2 separate regions of the Homo sapiens genome follow, and region 2 is linked to region 1. The links are contacts of gene promoters, found by promoter capture Hi-C in human tissues and cell types (Jung and others, 2019). All regions are on one chromosome and are shown on one strand. The core of a region is centred on a gene start or on the middle of the fragment in contact, and the rest is flanking DNA. Distances in the headings are between cores, read along the strand shown. Region 1 holds the start of MANSC4 (MANSC domain containing 4). Region 2 has its middle 26 kb from the start of FAR2.

The links. The method cuts DNA at HindIII sites, captures the fragments that hold promoters and counts their contacts. A contact is called where the count stands out against the background at its distance.
Region 2: a contact is called between a fragment that was not itself captured here and the fragment with the promoter of MANSC4 in region 1, in 1 of the 25 tissues and cell types used here (dorsolateral prefrontal cortex).

The regions. Positions count from the first base shown.
Region 1 is chr12:27,778,458-27,781,742 of GRCh38, reverse strand. It overlaps MANSC4 (MANSC domain containing 4), which reads left to right and starts at 1,507. Exons shown (of 4, transcript NM_001146221.5): 1 at 1,507-1,533. It overlaps KLHL42 (kelch like family member 42), which reads right to left and starts at 1,510. Exons shown (of 3, transcript NM_020782.2): 1 at 541-1,510. The coding sequence starts at 1,412. RefSeq lists an enhancer at 994-1,493 and silencers at 1,359-1,668, 1,689-1,908. The HindIII fragment of the contact is 9,315 bases long and covers 1-3,285 here.
Region 2 is chr12:29,122,213-29,125,203 of GRCh38, reverse strand. No RefSeq gene overlaps it. Among named protein-coding and RNA genes, the nearest start is that of FAR2, 26 kb to the left of the region's middle. The HindIII fragment of the contact is 4,385 bases long and covers 1-2,991 here.

The sequences.
Region 1 (3,285 bases), core at 258-2,757:
ATAAAAAATAAGAAAAGCAACCCCTATTGCAAACGTTAATACATTTCCAGTGATTATCTCTTGATCATGATGGGTATCACAGTGTGGAAGACTCTGTTGTCACAGTCACTGACATCAGAAAAAAATCCCCCAAAGTCAGTGTTACAGGTTACTGTCCAGTGTATCATTATCATCAGGATCAAATCCTAAAAACTAAGACAAATTTTTTAAAAATTAAGGGGCAATTTTCTTTTAAAGTATTCTTGTAGGAAACCACAACATCTTTTTTCACAAGAACAGAGGCAAAGAAAGCAGTTTCACCTAAAGGCACAATACCTGCCAAAAAACCACTCCACTTCTTGACCTCACTGGGGACGTCCTCTTCGCAATTTCTTAGTTCATTGGGAATTTTGCCAGCGCCAAGGCCAACAACATTCCTGAAGATGTCATTTCCACCACAGCACACCCTCCCCTATTTACTGGCTCAGTAAACACTGGGGTAATGAACTAATGAACAAGTGAATGAATGAGAAGGCAGCAGCACTCTGCCGGGGTGCTTACCTCTTCTGGTTCATGGAGGCCACCTGGAGCCACTCGTTGGTGCTGGGGTTGTAGGAATGCGCAGCGGAGATCTCCTGGCTAGTGATCCTGTACCCGCCCACTATGAAGAGGTAGTTGTCCAGGATGGCAGACCCATAGCCCCTGACATTGACCAGGTCGGGAGGAAGGTTGTTGGCCAGCGGGAACCAACGCTCAGTCATCTCCTCGTACCTGAGCATGGACGGGGGCTCCCCCTGGTAGGGGTGAGGGGCCAGGGGTCCCCCCAGGAAGTCCCCGAGGGCCACGAGGACAGGAGTCCCAGTCATCCGGGCCTCCCTCAGCCTCTGCTTCAGGCTGACATCCCCTGGAGCTTGGGGAGGAGACCCCAGGAGGTGGAACTGGGGCTTGCACAGCACCTCGTGGAAGTGGACGACCATGAAGCGCAGGCAGGCCTCCTGCAGGTCGGGCAGCCCGTACACCTGCGCCAGGCGGTACATCTCCAGGCAGTTATTGAGCCGCACCTGGGACAGCAGCAGCTGCAGCAGGGACGTGACCTGCAGGAAGGAGGCCGCCTCCACCAGCTCGGACAGCAGGCTCACCTCATCCATCTCCTCGTCCTCGTCCACCCCGCCGCCCTTTTCCCCGCGCGGGCCCAGGAGCCAGCCTTCGCGGGCCCCGCCGGCGTTGATGAAGTCCAGCACCAGCCGCAGGCCCGGCGCGCTGAGGCCGCGCAGCTGCTGCACCTCCGGGCCGCCGGCCTCCTGGCTCAGGGCCTCGCGCATGCCGGAGCGGTAGAGGGCGCGGAAGTAGTCGCTCTGCTCGATGAGCTTCCTCTTGCTCACCGGGTAGCAGCGGTCCTCCAGGCGGATCTGCACCATCTCCTCGGCCGACATGGCTGGGGGCCCCGGGGCGGCAGCGCTCACCGCCAGATCTGCGCGCCGGCCTCCCAGCCCCTACGCGCGCGCCGGTTCCGGGCGGGGCGCCGAGGGATGGCGGCCCGGGAGGAGCGGCGAGGTGAGGGCCGCCCGCGCTCGCCCGGCCTCTCCGGCGGCCCCTCCTCCCGGGGCCCGCTCCCGCGAGGCGGCGGCCCTGCCCTTCTCCTTTCCCTCAGCGCCAAAAAAGGGCCGGCGGAGCGCGGCGGGCGTCCTCGCGCGGGCTCTCCCGGGCGGCGCCAGGCGGGAAGGGAATTCCAGCTCCCAGCCAGCAGCCTCCTCCCCCGCCGCCCTTCTCACTTCCGCCCGCGGGACCCCAGCCGCCGGCCTGACCTGCCGGCTGGATCCGGCTCTCGGGGAGGCCCGGGAAGCTGCGGGCCCGGGCGCCTCGGCTGCGGACGCGCAGCTGCGGGAGGCGGAGGGCGCGCGTCCCCGCAGCCTCTCCGCCCGCCCGGGGCGCGCCGGCTCCGCCGCTTGTTGGGGGCTGCAGTGATGCTCCGGGGTACCCCAGGGAGAAGAAATTCGTTTTCTCTCCCACGCTGCTTTACACGGGCTAAAGAAAAAGAAATGAGCGTGGGAGGAAAGGGAAGGATGGAGTCTCTGGTCCAGGGAGACAAAAAGGCATCAAATATGGGGTCGTCCTTCTGGCCCAGTCCGGCATCGAGTGTCAGTGGGCTGAGGCACGCAGGCGATCTATGGACAGTTGGTGGCAATGTTGGTGGCACGTAGAGCTGATTCTCTGGTAGCGTGGTCGCGTAGGAGCCATCTTACAGGAGGTCCAGGCAGATGGCAGCAGGTTCTCAGAGGAATCGGGTTGGGAGGCAGGGGAGCTTGCATTTGCCACTGGGGCCCCTTATTCTCCCTAAGTTATTAAAAGAAAGATGAAAGCGCAGCCCGACTAAATAAAGTTACATCACGTGGCTTCTGGTTTTAAACCATGTTTTCTATGAGCCATTGCTTTTCTACTTCAGTCCAGTCCATTACGGAATGTTATCCTGGCGCAAAAGATCTGACAAAATTGGCTCATAAATGTCTGCAAGAAGTAGCTTTTCTTGTCACCCCCTTTCTCCACCTACCCTGCCCCCATCATCTGAGGACTATTAAGAGAGACCACACGTGCGGTTTGGCTGAGCGCGGTGGCTCACGCCTGTAATCCCATGACTTTGGGAAGCCCAGGTGGGCAGATCACGAGGTCAGGAGTTCGAGAGCACCATGGCCAACATGGTGAAACCCCGTCTCTACTAAAAATACAAAAATTAGCCGGGCGTGGTGGCACGCGCCTGTGATCCCAGCTACTCGGGAGGCTGAGGCAGGAGAATTGCTGGAACCCGGGAGGCGGAGGTTGCAGTGAGCCGAGATCGCGCCACTGCACTCCAGCCTGGGCGACAGAGCGAGACGCCGTCTCGGAAAAGAGAGACCACTTGTTTCCTATGTTCTCTCACTGAACATTGCAATTAGAAGGCCCACCCCAAATAATAATAGGAAGGACTTTTTGTCTTGCTAATGAATTCATCCCAGGAAGGGGGTGGGGGGAGAAATATATTGTTTGGATTATCTTTGGGTAGGAGAAGGGAGAAGGATTGGGAGGAAGCAGAGGGTGTGTTCACTCTTATCTTACAAAACAAAAACAGAAAACCTTGAAAACTTACCCCAAACCAAGATTTGAGAACCACCTATGATAAACAGTCCTTAACTTGGAGAGAATATGTGTTTGGTTTTTTTTTTTATTATTACAAGCTTCAGCTTTCTTCTTGAATGACAGATTGTTAAATAATATCTTCTTCATAAGTACATTTCCCCTATTTAAAGAAGATACATCCTACCATGCTAACAT
Region 2 (2,991 bases), core at 275-2,774, 1.3 Mb before region 1:
TATAAATATATCCAACTAATCTTTGACAAAGCAGCAAAGGCAATACAATGAAGCAGAGACAGTTTTTTTCAACAAATGGTGCTGGAACAGCTGGACATACACATGCAAAAACAAAACAAAACAAAACAAAACAAAAAACAAACCTAGACACACACCTACATCTTCACAAAAATTAACTCAAAATGAATTATAGACCTAAATGTGAAGTGCAAGGCTATAAATCTCCTAAAAGATAATGTAGGAGAAAACCTAGATGATCTTGAGTATGGTGATAACTTTTTAGAAACCACACTGAAAATGTGATTGCTGAAAGAAATAATGATAAGATGGACTTTATTAAAATTAAAAATTTCTGCTTTGCAAAATTTAATGTCAAGAGAGTGAGAAAACAAGCTTTGGGCCAACAGAAAATATTTAGAAAAGACAGGACTGTTATCCAAAATATAAAAAGAATTCTTAGAACTCAATAATAAGAAAATGAACAACCCAACTAAAACGTCCAAAGACCTGAACAGACACTTCATCAAATAATATATACAAATATCATGTAAGCATATGAAAACATGTTTGATATGATATGCTATTAAAGAATTTCAAATTAAAATGACAATCAAAAAATTACTATGCACCTATTAGAATGGTCTAAATCCAAAATCAGAAACCCTGACAACACTAAATGCTGGTGAAGATGTGTGGCAACAGGAAATCTTATTCACTGTAGATGGGAATGTAAAATGATACAGCCACTATGGAAGACTGTTTGGCATTTTCTTATAAGACTAAACACACTCTTACCGTATGACCTAGCAATCACACTCTGCTATTTCCCTAAACAAATTTAAAACATGTTTACTCAAAAACCTGCAGCCTATTCATAATGGCCCAAACTTGGAAGAAACCAACATGTCCTTCAGTAGGTGAGTGTATAAATAAGCTGTGGTACTCAAACTACATCAGACAATAGAACATTATTCAGTGCTGATGAGAAGAAATGAGCTATGAGAAGATATGAAGGAAACTTAAATGCATATTACTAAGTAAAATAAGCCAATCTGAAAAGATTATGAACTGTATGATTCCAAATATATGACATTCTGGGAAAGGTAAAAAAGTTGGAAATAGTAAAAAGATTAGTGGTTGCCAGGATCTGGGCTGCAGGGGGTTTGGGGGTCAATGAATAGACAGAGCAAAGAAGATTTTACGGCAGTGAAACTATTCTGTAAAATACTACCATAGTGGCTACATGCCATTATACATTTATCAAAACCCACAGAAGGTACAACACCAAGAGTGATCTCTGATGCGAACTATGGACTTTGGGTAATAACAATGAATCAACGTAGGCTCATTGATTATAAGACATGCAGCACTTTGGTACAGGATGTTGATAGCTGGAAAGGTTGTGGGTGGGAACAGTGAGTATATGGGGAACCCTCTGCTCAATTTCTCTGGTGCATGATGGTGATAAGCTGTGTGCTTTGGGGACAATGAGTATACAGGAACTCTGTACTTTCTGCTCAATTTGCTGTGAACCTAAAATTACTCTAAAAATGAAGTTTATTAATTAAAAAATAGAATGCTGCTGGAGAGGTATCAGATATGAAGAAGATATAAATGAAATCAAAGATGGTTAAAAAATGCATGAGTTCTAGAAATGAACATCAAGAAAAGAGACTATAGAATTCTCTAGAAAGAAGATTGGTGGCTCTTATTTCATTCTCCCCAAATAAAAAAAGTCCTTTCATTTCTAGGAGAAGGATCTTGTAATAGTAACTAGAATTAGGTTATGGAGCCACAGGAGAAATCTCCTTTATATGTCACTGGGTAAAAGAGTATGAGAGTGCCTATACTCCAAAGAACAAATAAATATGTACATGTTTTGCATCTCTATGAAGCCTTAAATCAGCAATGTTCCCTGTGTCCACACTGTAAACAAGAATATCATCTACCAGTAGAGAGAGTTTCTCCAAGTGTTGGAATCATAACCCAGTACATTTTGACTTTATTCTGATGGTTTGTCTATATCTGCTAGCAAGGTTTATGACTAGTCTAGATGTTTTAAAAGCCACAACACAAGCTAACAAACTACTATATAAAATACGCTCTACCCTTCTACCTTGACAAATGTATATTTAAATGACAAAATAAAAATATATGTATAAAGCCATGATGTTTATATGGCTAAAGTAGCCAAGGTTTCAGGATGACTGAATTTAATTATTATTGGGTGTATGTGAATGTTAATTTGATGGGCTGGCAGTGTTTGGGTGAAGAACAAAATAAAGATACACATAATTCACAAATTATTTCTTATTTATTCTAAGAAATCGATTTTTCTTGGCTACATTTAAACAAATCACTAATTTTATTATTAAAGCCAAGATAACATCATTATTTGTATTCTATTTGAAGTAAATGACCTAAAGGATTAAAGAATAAAGTAATATTTAAGAGGGGATAAAGTTTGAAATTATTTTCCCACAAATGTGGATTAAATTAAATGCAAAATTTGGAAAAATACAGATTTTAAATGTTTTAAATAATACATTTAAATTACATATTTGAATCAAAGGCCCAACTGCAAATTAAATTATTGAATATTGAAGTTTTAAATAAAACTTATTTATGTATGTGTTTATTTTTAAAGACAGTGCTTCATTCTGTTGCCCAGGCTGGAGTACAGTGGTGTGATCACAGCTCACTGCAGCCTTGAAATCCTGGGCTCAAGGGGTCCTCCCACCTCAGCCTCCCCAGTAGCTGAGACTGCAGGTGCACACCACCATTCCAGGGTGAATTATTTTATAAAAAATTTTGTAGAGACAAGGTCTTGCTATGTTTCCCAGGCTGGTCTCAAACTACTGGCCTCAAGGGATCCTCCTCCCTTGGCCTCCCACAGTGTTGGGATTACAGACAAGAGTCACTGTGCTGGGCCAAAATTATTTAAATAAAGCTAATTATATTTTATTGTTTTGAAATATCTAATAAATCTCA